Linked DNA regions of Homo sapiens: region 1 is linked to region 2. Evidence: promoter capture Hi-C in human tissues and cell types (Jung and others, 2019). All regions are on one chromosome and are shown on one strand. Each heading gives the region's core, a stretch centred on a gene start or on the middle of the fragment in contact. The rest is flanking DNA. Distances are from core to core; before and after follow the strand shown. Region 1 has its middle 170 kb from the start of SNX13. Region 2 holds the start of PRPS1L1 (phosphoribosyl pyrophosphate synthetase 1 like 1).

Region 1 (6,182 bases), core at 263-2,762, 260 kb before region 2:
ACTAATCTACTTTGTGTTTCCATGGAATTTCCCTGTTGGGTCATTTCATATAAATGAAATTATACATTATGTGGCCTTTTGTGACTAGTTTCTTTCACTTAGCATAGTATTTTCAAGTTCTATCCATATTGTAGACTGTATTAAAACTTTTTCCTTGTTACAACCAAATAAAATTCCATTGTATAAATACATTTTATTTATACATTCATTGATGGATATTTGTGTTGCCTCCATCTTCGGGTTGTTATTAATAGTGCTGCTATAAACATTCGTGTACAAGAATTTGTGTGGATATATGTTTTCATTTCCCTTGCGTATAAATCTGGGCATGACTGCTGGGTATTATGGTAGCTCGATGCTAAACATTTTGAAGAGCTGCCACACTGTTTTTTAAAGGGGCTGCACCATTTTACATTCCCATCAGTTTTGTATTTCTCCATGTCTTTATCTTTTTTATTAATGTCATTCTAGTGAATATGAGGTACTAACTCATTGTGGCTTTGGTTTTTATTTCCCTAATGACTAATGATGTTGAACTTCTTTTTCACACGCTATTTGTAAATCTTATTTGGAGGAATGTTTATTCAGATCCTTTGTCCATCTTTTAATTAAATAGTTTGCCTTTTTATTATTAGGTTGTAAGAGTTCTTTATACAGTCTTTATATATATATATATTTAGAAATTCTGGTTACAAGTCTCTTAACGGATATATAATCTACAAATATTTTCTCCCTGTGGGTTGTTTTTTCACTTTCTAGATAGTGCTCTTTGAAACACAAAATTTTTAATTTTAATTTTGATAAAGTCTAATGTATCTATTTTTTTCTTTGGTTCTTTGTGTTTTTGGTGTCACATGTAAGAAGCTATTGCTTAATCAAAATTTATTAATATTTACTCCTATGTTTTACAGCAGGGGCCCCCAATCCCTGGGCCATCAACGGTACTGGTCTGTGGCCTGTTAGGAACCAGGCTGTGCAGCAGGAGGTGAGCAGTGGGTGAGCAAGCATTATCACCTGAACTCCACTTTCTGTTTGTTTGTTTGTTTGTTTTGTTTTTTGAAACAAAGTCTCACTGTGTTGCCCAGGCTGGACTGCAGTGGTGCGATCTTGGCTCACTGCAACCTCTGCCTCCCAGGTTCAAGTGATTCTCATGCCTCAGGCTGCCAAGTAGCTGGGATTACAGGCGCACGCCACCACACCGGGCTAATTTTCATATTTTTAGTAGAGACAGGGTTTCGCCATGTTGGTCAGGCTGGTCTCAAAGTCCTGGCCTCAGGTGATCCGCCCACCTCGGCCTCCCAAAGTGCTGGGATTACAGGTGTGAGCCACCGCACCTGGCCTCGCATTCTGTAAGATTAGCAGTGGCATTAGATTCTCATAGGAGCATGAATCCTGTTGTGAACTGTGCATGTGAGGGATCTAGGTTGTGCTCCTTATGAGAGTCTGACTAATGCCCAATGATCAGAGGTGGAACACTTTCATCTCAAAACCATCCCACTCGCAGCCATTTGTGGAAAAGTTGTCTTCCACGTAAACAGTCACTGGTGCCAAAAAGGTTGGGGACCACTGTCCTATGAGATTTTGGTGAAGATTAACTGGGATAATGTATGTAAATTCTGGGCATGTAACTATCAGTGGGAAGTAATATCTTATATTGTCATTCAGACAATTCCTCCAGGCTTCCACCTCCACCCTCATCTAATTTCTCTGGTTTCCACCTCTACCATACCCTCTGGATTTGCCCCTTGGTTGGACTGGCTCTGGCTTTGATTTCAGACTCTTCCTAAAACACTGCTTCTGCATACCTCATGACCTTTAGTTTCAAGCAAGTGATGTTGACAGTTGCTCAGCTCAGGTTCTGGACTGTCCAGGAGGGGGCATCAGACAACAAGAAGAGAAGTCCCTAGAAAAGACAGCTTTAATCAAATAATACTGCCATTCATTGAAAACCTGCTGCGTGGCTTCCTCTTTATGGGCATTATCTCTATTCTCTAGAATAACTGTGGGAATAGAGTACAGTATTACCACCATGATATAAAAGAGGAAACTGATTTTCTAAGTTTAATAACTTTCCCAACATTTCCCAGTTTAGTAATTGATGGGCTGGGATTTGACTGACTATAAAGCTTGTACTATTTCTTTTATACCACCAATCTCGATCTCACAGGGCTACAAAAAATCTTGAAGCAAGCATTAGAACTTCCCTCTATCTTTAGTAGCTCTAAATGACGTAAAAATGTGTTTAGAGAGCATTAAAATGTGTTTAACAAAATGTGTTAAGAGAATATGTCCTGGACTTAGGGGACAAACTAGAAATCAAGCTTCCAGACCTCAGGACCTACAGTATAAATTAGAATGCAAAACACTAACAAGCAACATACCCAGAAGGTAGTTATGAAGTAATAATGACTTGATAAAGTTAACATCATACATTCTGATACTTCATTGAAATTTTCTTCCCTGGGCTGGTCTATGATGTTTTTAAATATCTAAACTATGGCTTAACGTCCATGAAGCTTGAACCTGATCAATTTCTCTAAGGCACTATAGTTACAGTTTGAGTATCGTTCACCCAGGGGATAGTATTATTTTCTCAAAATGTCTTCTGGGTCTATCTGCAGCAGAATCTCCTGCTATACTTAATAAAATTCACGTTTCAAAGCCACTCCTTTCATTTACTGATGTCTACGCTGGTGACTGACATGCTGCATTTTTAAGCAGCTGTTCATTAAACAGCAAGAAACAGTTATTGCCTCACCATTGGACTTCCCTTTTTGCCATTAAGAGACAGCATCTGCCCTTTAAGTTCTGCCTCTCTTACCATGAGTCCTAAACATTATAAAAGCAGAAGTTTATAAAGTTAGTCCAATTTCTACCATTTGGCACATAGTGGTAATAACAGCTAACACTTTCAGAGGACTTACTGTGCTCCAGGTACTAGTCTAAGTCCTTTACCTACATATTAGCACCCTGAATCCTCACAACTGTCTCCTGTTGTTGATTCTATTAACTTCAAATCTCTTATACAAATGAGGAAACAGACAGGTTAAGACTTGCCCAAGGTTAAGTAGCTTGAAATTGACAGAGCCAAAACTCGAACCCACAGGCAACCAGATTTCAGAGTCTAAGCTTTTGAACATTATAATTCTTCTTTTTGAAAAATGATTTAATGGCAGAAGATTTGGAAAAACAAACTCATATATTCATCACTAGGGGAATGGTTAAAGAAATTATGATTCCCCCAATGAAACGCAGCTGTGAAAAACTAAGAAGCTTTCACTGAGCTGAAAGGCAAGGGTCAGAATGTGTATAATATGCTGACTTTATGTTTAAAATAAATCTTTTTTCAAATTGAATTTTGGATCTGTATGTATTAGGAATTTAGTCTTTGTTACATGAGTTAAAAAATTTTCCCAATTTTTCATTTAACTTTTTAGGTACTTATGGTATAATTTACTATGCAAAAGTTATCTTTAATTTTATGTACTTGCGTTATTTATTTCATGGTTTTTGGATTTTGAGTCATCATTAGACCTTCTCCACTTCAAGGATAAAAAGTAATTATCCTAATACTTTCTTCTGGTGCTTTCAGGATTTCTTTCTAAATGTGTGATTTTTAATGTATTTTAAGTTTACTGTGATACACAGGTAAGGTATGAACAAGCTCATTATTTGTCGCAACATCCATTATTAAATTGCCCTCTTTGCCCCACTAATTTCAGATGTCCTTCTATCATGAAGTGAATTTTCTTATGTATTTTGAATTATTTCTGGGCTTATTTTGTCCCTTTGGGTACTAAGTTTTTAGTTTATGAGGCAGCCAGATCCATTTATTTTTGCACTCAAGTATTATTTTAGTCCTGGAGATAAATTTATGGTCTGTTTAATGTACCATGTTATTGCTGACATCCCTTATCGTCCTGGGGAAGTTACAGAAATAATGAACAGTAGTTTTACAGTGATGGCTTCAGCAGAAAACAGATCTAGAGAAGCACTGTCCCTGAGGATAGCGCACTGAGCCCCACACCTGCTGAGATTTTCAAATTCGTATCATTCTGTCTGCTCAACTCTGCAACTACCTTTCATCTTCCTTTGGAAAGCAGCAGGACTGAGGATTAAGGTTAAATTCCCATTGTCTGTGGTCCAAAGAGAAAGCATACTACCACTGTCTGTTCATATTATTGCCATTGTGTTAAAGTGCAGAACCAAAAGCAAACTTTCTAATTTTTCATACTCCTAGCTTGGTGTGTGTGCCTGCTGTTGGCACCCAGGATCTGCCTATATTCCCTAGAAAGCATATCAAAACAGCAGCTTGACTCTCCTGAGAATGGAGAGGTGGACTGGCACAAATTCAATGGAGTATGGCGAGAATGTCACAGGAGCTACTCCAACCAAAATTCCTTTTCATATTGCAAAGCTCCTACATGGGCCACTCTGAGCCAATGTCCCTCTAAGTCCCCTTGAAAGCACTGTTTGAATAGGATAAACTTCCTGACAGTGTTTGAACTTTGCAGACTCCCTATCAGACTCACAGTCTCAAGTTAGCAGCTCACAGTGGATAAGGCGGTGTGAGCGCTAGACCTCAAGGCCTGAATATGATTTGGCCAGTGCTCTTGGCTCAATCCCTGCTCCATGTTAAGCTGCAATAACCACAGCTGGAAAGTGTGTTTGTGCCCTCTAGGTCTGAACAGCTGGAAGAAGGGGGGCCCCCCCCGACACAAATTAAATTAGGAGGTGTAAAATGCTGTGGGAAGAAAAACAAACCAAGATGACAAAAGCAGGTGCCAAAAGGCGTTTGTTCACAACCCCCATCACAGTTTCATTTTTATGTGTATGATTAGCAGCTCAGCTGCCTTAGGGCACATTTCATACTTCTTTGATCTTTTAATGTCTTGAAAAGAAAAAGAAACAGCACCTGCTGATGAAAGATATTCCAAGAGAATAGCAGGCTCTGTTCTCCAACAATCTCAAAAGCTTAACTATCCTACTCTGTGGACAGTTTTAAAGACTGTGTATTTTAGAAACCAATCTCTTCAAGAACTAGCTGAACAGTATAAAACAACTGTCCTTTTATTGTTATTTTCCAATTTATTGCCAGAGGATTATCTGTTAATGAGCCTTAGCTTATTAGAAAGACTTAAGGAAGCTAGAAACTTTCACCACAATAGCACTGATTGGTTTGTCATAGTCTGAAGTAACTCTCTTGTACTAGATGATTCATAAATTCTAAATAGGAGACCAAAGGGGCAGCAGTTCTAAAGAGAGCAGCCACACAACCCCATTGCACAATAAGCTTTGTCAGCACAGCCTGTAGATAAACACTGGGTTGCAATATAGCCACGAATGACCGGTTCTCTCCCTTGTTCATCCATCCTGGGAGACCTACAGGTGCCTTAAATTCTCCCTAAATTGTTCCAGAAGACATCGCCTGTGTCCCTTAGCCCGGTCTTCTTGACTACTCTTTAGGTTTCAGCCTTTTTTTTTTTTTTTTTTTTTTTAACTCTCATCTGCTCAGTTTTGTGCTGATTAATGCCTGTAAAGGTACCACCATGGCTGCTAAGGCCCTCACTCTCACATTTCTGTGCCCAGATTGTAAAGCCCTAAGTTCCATGCCAAGCTCCTGACACCTTGTGCTCTCAATGTCCTAGATTTATTCATTTTCGATCTTATCTTTCATTATACTCTTTACTTTCAGACTCATAGCAGAAACAGGACTTGAGGACCATCTAAATGAGTGATAGACATCCCACCCCTTCCTTCCTGACCTACCATTCTTTAACCCTCTTCCAATACAGTGCATTCCATCCCAAGTTTCTCAGTCCCTCATGCCAGTGGTACCTGGCCAGCCTGTGGCATCAGTCCTCTAGATTTGCCTTAGTCTTGGGACAAACTTACGTAGGTCTTCCTTCTAGTAAAACATTGAGATAAAACAACTTTGCAACTGTTATTTCTTCTTGAAATTAGCATTCTGAACGTATCATCCTTAAAGGTATGAATCAATAGTTTCATCTCTGATAAATATTAGAAGTCATCTGAATTTCTTTCCAAGTCATTGGAGGGGAGCAAGAATTAATAAGACAAAGAAAATGAATTCATGCTTGTCACTTTATAGAAACAGACCCACTAATTGATACGAATCAATAATGCCTTGCATGTCCTATGTCCAGTTTTCAAGGAGTCAT
Region 2 (6,726 bases), core at 4,038-6,537:
TGGGACTACAGGCATGTACCACGATTCCTGAGTTGATTTAATGACATTTTAACAGAATCCTCCCTCCCTCTCTCTCTCTTTCTCTAAATATGGGTGTGAGCTCTCAGCCAATGGGAATTCGTGTGTAGTGTGACGAACTGTATAAAACAGTTCTCAGGCAATAAGCATAAGAACACTATAGCCTCAGCTAGGAGGCCCACTGCTTAGCTACCATAGGGTGAATATGTTCTGCAGCATGTGTTATTTACTATTCAATGGGCTGTCTTTTGTTTATTTTGTATTTTGTAGAGAAGTTTGTCCCAAATGACTGATTAAGCATGTGGAAATAATAATGTTGAATATGCTTCATATAAGCAAGAAAATAGTGTTACAATGGGTCTTAAAAGTAGAAGCCTTGGAGAGGCTTTTGAAGAGGCACTTTCCAGGATGCAATCAAGGAAGCAGAAGGTTAAGACCATGGAGAAACTAGATATTGGTAAGTGCTAACTGACATTAAAAAGGCCATCCTAAGCATCACTGTGATCTAGATTGACCAACAATTGTATGAAGATAGCTAGGAAAAAACTAAGGTAGTAGTCTCATCCCCACTTCGGAGACTCTGAGTAGACCGCAGAAGTGGTTGCCAAGGCAGGATATCAGGAAAGCATCTCCATAGGGACTTTGTGATAGCAATTCTCTGATAGAGTTGATTCAGTTATGTACCTCTTTCCAGTAACACAGTCCCTCCACTAAATAGGGTATGTGTGTACTAAATTCCTGTAAGTATACATGAGTCTGTTTCAGGAATATACATTCTGCAATATTAATTTATGTGTCCATTCCTGCATCAATACCACATTTTAATCACTGTAGCTTTGAAATGTTTTAATGTATTGTGACACAGAAAAGATGTTGAATATTTTTGCTTATTTACTTTTCCAGATGAACTTTAAAATAAGCTTGTGTCAAATTCTCTTATCTTAAAAATCCCTTTGGCCAGGTACAGTGCCTCACACCTATAATCTCAGCACTTTGGGAGGCCGAGAAGGACAGACCGCTTGAGGTCAAGAGTTGAAGACCAGCAAGGCCAACATGGTGAAATCCCGTTTCTACTGAAAAAAAAAAATACAAAAATTAGCAGGGCGTCATAGCAGACACCTATAATCCCAGCTAGTGGGGAGGCTGACGCAGGGGAATCACTTGAACCCAGGAGGCGGAGGTGCAGTGAGCCAAGATTGGGCCACTACCCTCCAGCTTGGGTGACAGAGGGAGACTCTGACAAAAAAAAAAAAAAAAAAAATCCCTTTAAGATTTTGATTAGGTTCACACTGACTTGATAGGAAACTATCATGTTTGCAATATTGTTCTTCCTATCCAAGTTTATAATGTACTTATTCAGGTATTTTCTATATCCTTTGGCAACATTTTTTCATACAAATCCTACAGTTTTGGGATTTATTACTGGTCATGTTGTAGATTTTATTGTTTTAGGCTGTGGAAACATTTCTTTCAATTATGTTTTAAAATTATATTTTACTGGTATTTAGGAAAGATGTCATTTTATCTTACATACTTTCACTTTACTGACCTCTCTTATGAATTCTGAGTTTTTCTTTTGATTGTTGGATTTTTTGTTGGCAATCATGACATCTTCAAATAATGAAAGTTTTGGCTCTTTCCTTCTGGTATTGATACCTCTCTTTTTTTCCTTGCCTCTTTCCCATTGGTTTAGAAATTTAATGGGAATGTTTTCAATGTTTCATCATTAAGTATGTCCTTAATTAGGTCTATACCAGATTTTCTCTAGCAGGTCAAGCAAGGTTTGTTCTATTCCTATTTTACTGATAGTTTTATTTTTTCATAATATTGTTAAGATGATAGTAGTAATGCTACTATACTATATATAGTCTACATACATTTCTTTAAGAAATTTATTAAGACTTTTTATGACCTATTATGTATTTTTTCTTTTTAAAAAATCTTTAAAACCTGTGAAACCTGTTATATTTGCTTCATGCATACTTGAAATGTAAATTATGTTTAATTTCTATATTAAGTTGTGATAATGGAGTCATTTAAACCCTATAATACCTTTTCTTGATAACTTATGAGAGTTTTATCAAAATTTCCTTCTTTGATTATGATGATTGTGCGTTTCCATTTCTTCTTATATTCTCGCTGATTCACTTTTCTTTTTCTATTTCCATGTTGAGTTGTTAGGTAGATAAAGATTCATGATGATTATAACTTATTGGTGGGTTTAATCAGCAAAGCACATTCCACTTTTGTTTTGACTAAATCTATCATTGCTTGTTTCTTTTTGTTACCATTTACTTTGTATATTTTCTCTATCTCTTTATACCAAACTTTTTAGATGTGTGTCCTATAAATAGCATATTATTAGGTATTTTAGCTACCCAATCTAATAATGTATCTTTTACAAAATTAACCTATTGACTTTTGTGATAGTATATATTGGGTACTTTATCTTTGCTATGTTTTCTTTCTTTATTTCCTATCTTCAGCTCAATTTGTTGAGTTTTGCTTATTCCCCCCCACCCCCCTGCTCCACCTTCTTTTTCTTTCTAGGAGTTTGGAAGTTATTTATCCCATTCTTTTCTTCTCTGGCTTGCTCCTTGCCCTTGAATTTTAGAAAATACCTTATTTAAACTCAGGTTTTTCTATAATGTGAATGATTGTTGTTAATAACCTCCATCCAAAACTAGACAAGATCCTTAATAAATTTACACTAACCCTAACTCCTCCCAGCCTCAAAATTGCTTCATGATGTGGCCCAATTTTATGTGAGTTTTACCTTAATAACGGCCATAATCTTTACAGTAACTTCATAAAAATTATTTTTCTGTCAGTGTCACTTCTTTTTTTGCTTACCACCATCTCTTTTATTCTATGTGTTCTTCTTGGCTGTATATATTTTTTGTTTTCAGTATCTCCAAGAAGTACTTTCAGGAAACACTAGTGGTAGTAGTTTCTGAGTCCCTTAATATTGTCTTCATATGTCAATGATAGTTTGGCTAAGCACAGAAATTTAGGTGAAAAATAATATTCCTTTAGAACTGTGAGGAAATTATTCCATTTTGCTTACAGCCCAAGCGTTCAAATGAAAAATTTAAAGCAATCTGAATATTGTTTCTTTAAAACTTTCTTGTTTTTGTTTTACTCTTTAGAAATTCTTAGTGATTTTTTCTTGGAGATCAGAAATTTCACATGATAAATCTAGGTATGGTGCTCTGCACCACCCCTCTCCACCCCACACATATATGCAGATATTTTATTGGTTTTCCCTAAAAAGGACAATAACAACATTTTAAAAATATAAATCTGAGGTCATTTGAGGGGCCAACAAAATACAAGGAAGGGAGATAAAAATTAAATGTTTAAATTTAACAAAAGTCACTACAATGTCACCTAACATCTACTACAATGGTGGTAATAAACTAAGGAAGATTAAGTTACAGCAAAAATAACTAATATAAATATTAGAGATTACATAGCAAAAAGTGGGTTTGCCTTCCAGAAGACTATGGTACCCTGACCATTTGGGGCCCAGTAGGATATTTAGCAATGAAAAGGTCAAGATGGGTGGAGGTAAAGCTAAATCAAAAGGAACAGGTATAACTGAGAATCCAAGATAGATAGTGTCCAAATAGATGGTGACAGATCAATCTTCCTCCTCTCAAGAAGCATTTACTGTACTTGTTGCTTCCTCTCAAGATCCCAATGGCTGCTCAAGCTGAAAGTTGCCTATTCCTGCTGTTGAGGGTGTTCAGCAACCAGAATTAATTTTGTGGTGGCTCAGGGCTCTTGCTGCAACTGAGCATCGAACTTGGAGAATTTGTGACACAAAGTGGGGGTTTGGGGCAGGGGGTAGATTGGGTGGCTTTATTGCTAGTTGTTCTGAAAAAAGAAAACTCCGAAGCATTTACATGTAAGCTTTCCAACCACTTTCAAACACCTCTACAAAACACCCTCAGAAGTCTGAAATCTTTGCAGCAGAAGGGCTGTAGTTAAAGCTGCTGGGCTAACAAAATCATCAAAGAAGCCAGATGAGACAACCCAGTCAGGAAATCCTAGTGATTATTCTTAACCTGTTTTTCCCTAATTTAAGGTAAACTCTTATATACCTGATGTGGGATGTAGAAAGTTACACTGGAGCAAGCTGGATCTTCTGCTGAACTTTTAATCAAACCTAAGAAAAAATAAAGGCAAGGTTTGTTTTTATTAATCTTATTTTATTTTAAAATAGCATAACCTAGAAGTTATTCTGTTATAAAGGAACATGGCTGAACAGGTAGGAAACAGATTCCCCATTATGAGTTCTCCTTATGGCTTCTGCAAGGATCATGGAGATGTCAATTACTCGTATTTTGGAGCAATGCTTCATCTTCTCATCTTGAGGTATGGTATTGGTGACTACCACTGCTTCAAAGCATGCAGTGTTGATGCGAGAAATGGCTGGGCCAGAAAAGATTCCATGAGTCAAGATAGCATAAACTCTGGTTGCTCCAGCTGAGAGAAGTTTGTCAGCTGCGAGGCAGATTGTAACACAAGTGTCTGCCATGTCATCTACAAGGATAGCCACACGATCATTCACATCTCCCACTAGCACTATGCAGTCCACTTCATTGGCCTTCTTCCGTTCTTTATGAATCAAAGCAAAGTCCACATTCAACTGGTCTGCAATGGAGGTCACTCTTTTAGCTCCACCAGCATCTGGCGAGACAATAATGCAGTTCTTCCACTCAGGGATATTCTCCCTTATCCACTTCAGGACAGTTGGCTCTGCATACAAGTTGTCTACTGGGATATCAAAAAAGCCCTGAATTTGAGAAGCATGTAGGTCCATGGTGATGATATGATCCGCACCTGCTATAGAGAGCATATTTGCAACAAGCTTGGCAGAGATTGGGGACCGGCTCTTATCCTTCTTATCCTGTCGGGCATAAGGGAAGCATGGGATGACTGCAGTAACTCGGCTAGCTGAAGCAATCTTGCAGGCATTAATCATGATCAAAAGCTCCATTAGACTGTCGTTGATTTCGCCACAACCACTCTGAACGATGTAGACATCCTCTCCACGCACACTCTCATCAATTTCCACGCAGGTCTCCTGGTTGCTGAATTTCTTAGTCACCACCTTGCCTAGCTCCAGGCCCAGGCGGTCAGCAATTTTCTGGGATAAGTCCTGGTGGGAGCTGCCGCTGAAGATTTTGATATTCGGCGTCTTGGCCAACTACCAGAGGCACTCCGTCGAGCGATCCAGCTGCCGCTGAGGCTGGAACGGAAGTGAAGCACAGACTCTAATGGCTTCCGGTTGTTACTCAACCGTTAGGGTCCCTTCCCCCTTGCGGCGCGCGGTCCCAAATTGACCCTGGGTCTCTTGAAAAAATTTCTGCTTGCCACCTCCCACTTCACACTTTTAGACTAAATAATCAAGTATTTACAGTGTATGGAGTTTTTTTCTATTAGCACCTATATTAGTTTCACAGGGCTATTTAAACAAATTTGAATGCATAAAAACATAAAACTACAAAGCAAAACCCAAGTTTAAAAGGAAAATTACCTACTAAAGTATATGCAAAAGATTATTTTAGAAAGAATTTCCCCAATGAAGTGAGAAAAAGACAATAAAATAGAAAGTTGAAAAATGGCATAAATAGGCAATCACAGTAAAAAAAAAATGGATAAGAAACGTGAAACAATGGAAGTAATCAAGAAAACGCTATTTTCACACATCAAGTAGCCAAAATGTTAAGATAAGGTCTTCTATTCGGATGGAATGTATAAATATGTAGATTTTGCATGGGTAATTTTGCACATAAACTTTGACTCATCATGTATACTTCTAGGAATCTATTTCAGAGAAATTTTCACAAGCACCCCAAATATATATGGCTACATAGTAGTGTAGCTGTATTCATTCATGCAATAAATATTTTGTGAACACCTCCTATATGTCAGGTATTATACTACTTCTAGGGTATAAAAATTGTGCATGACAAATAGTAATTGCCCTAGAATTGTTTATAAAAGCAAAATATGGGAACCAACAAATGTTCATCAATAGGTAAATTACCAAATAATTTATTGTATATACATATGCGACCATTAAATAGATTAAGTGTAATCATGTGGAAATGTCTCCTAGGTATTTTTTTAAAGGTAAAGTCAGTCACAAAAATATCATAGTATTATATTTATGTATTTAAGATTATGTGATACTGAAAGCATCCAATTAGCATGGAAGTCCTCTTTATAATAATTACCTTTGGAGAGGGGAGTAGGTTGTGAGAGTTGAGAATGAAGGAGGACTGTTACATTTTACTGCTATCAGTGTGGCATTTGAACATTTATTACTTTTGTAGTAAAAATGATGAACAAAATGTATTTGGTAATTAAATGTTTGTTAGCAAATTTTAAGTATACAGCTTCTATGGCGTATCGGGGCTGGAAATAGTGAGGAAGGAGGCAGAAAGGACCATAGATGCCAATGATTTCATAAAAATAATGGAGGCATCAGATACAGATCAACCATTTATATCTTGCTAATTGTGTGCCTGACATTTGGATACCAGGGTGTTTTTATTTAGCCTAAAACCAAATCATCATTTTTTTCATATTGTAAGATAACCAAATAATTTAAGAGATTTTCTCACCACACTTCTGGGCTTCCTTAATGTGTTGGGTTCATGAATAGGATAAACTCAGAAATGGGATAAGAAATGG

What was found. The method cuts DNA at HindIII sites, captures the fragments that hold promoters and counts their contacts. A contact is called where the count stands out against the background at its distance.
Region 1: a contact is called between a fragment that was not itself captured here and the fragment with the promoter of PRPS1L1 in region 2, in 2 of the 25 tissues and cell types used here (hippocampus and mesenchymal stem cells).

The regions. Positions count from the first base shown.
Region 1 is chr7:17,768,159-17,774,340 of GRCh38, forward strand. No RefSeq gene overlaps it. Among named protein-coding and RNA genes, the nearest start is that of SNX13, 170 kb to the right of the region's middle. The HindIII fragment of the contact is 3,377 bases long and covers 1-3,201 here.
Region 2 is chr7:18,022,559-18,029,284 of GRCh38, forward strand. It overlaps PRPS1L1 (phosphoribosyl pyrophosphate synthetase 1 like 1), which reads right to left and starts at 5,288. Exons shown (of 1, transcript NM_175886.3): 1 at 4,212-5,288. The coding sequence starts at 5,224. The coding sequence ends at 4,268. The HindIII fragment of the contact is 4,496 bases long and covers 4,414-6,726 here.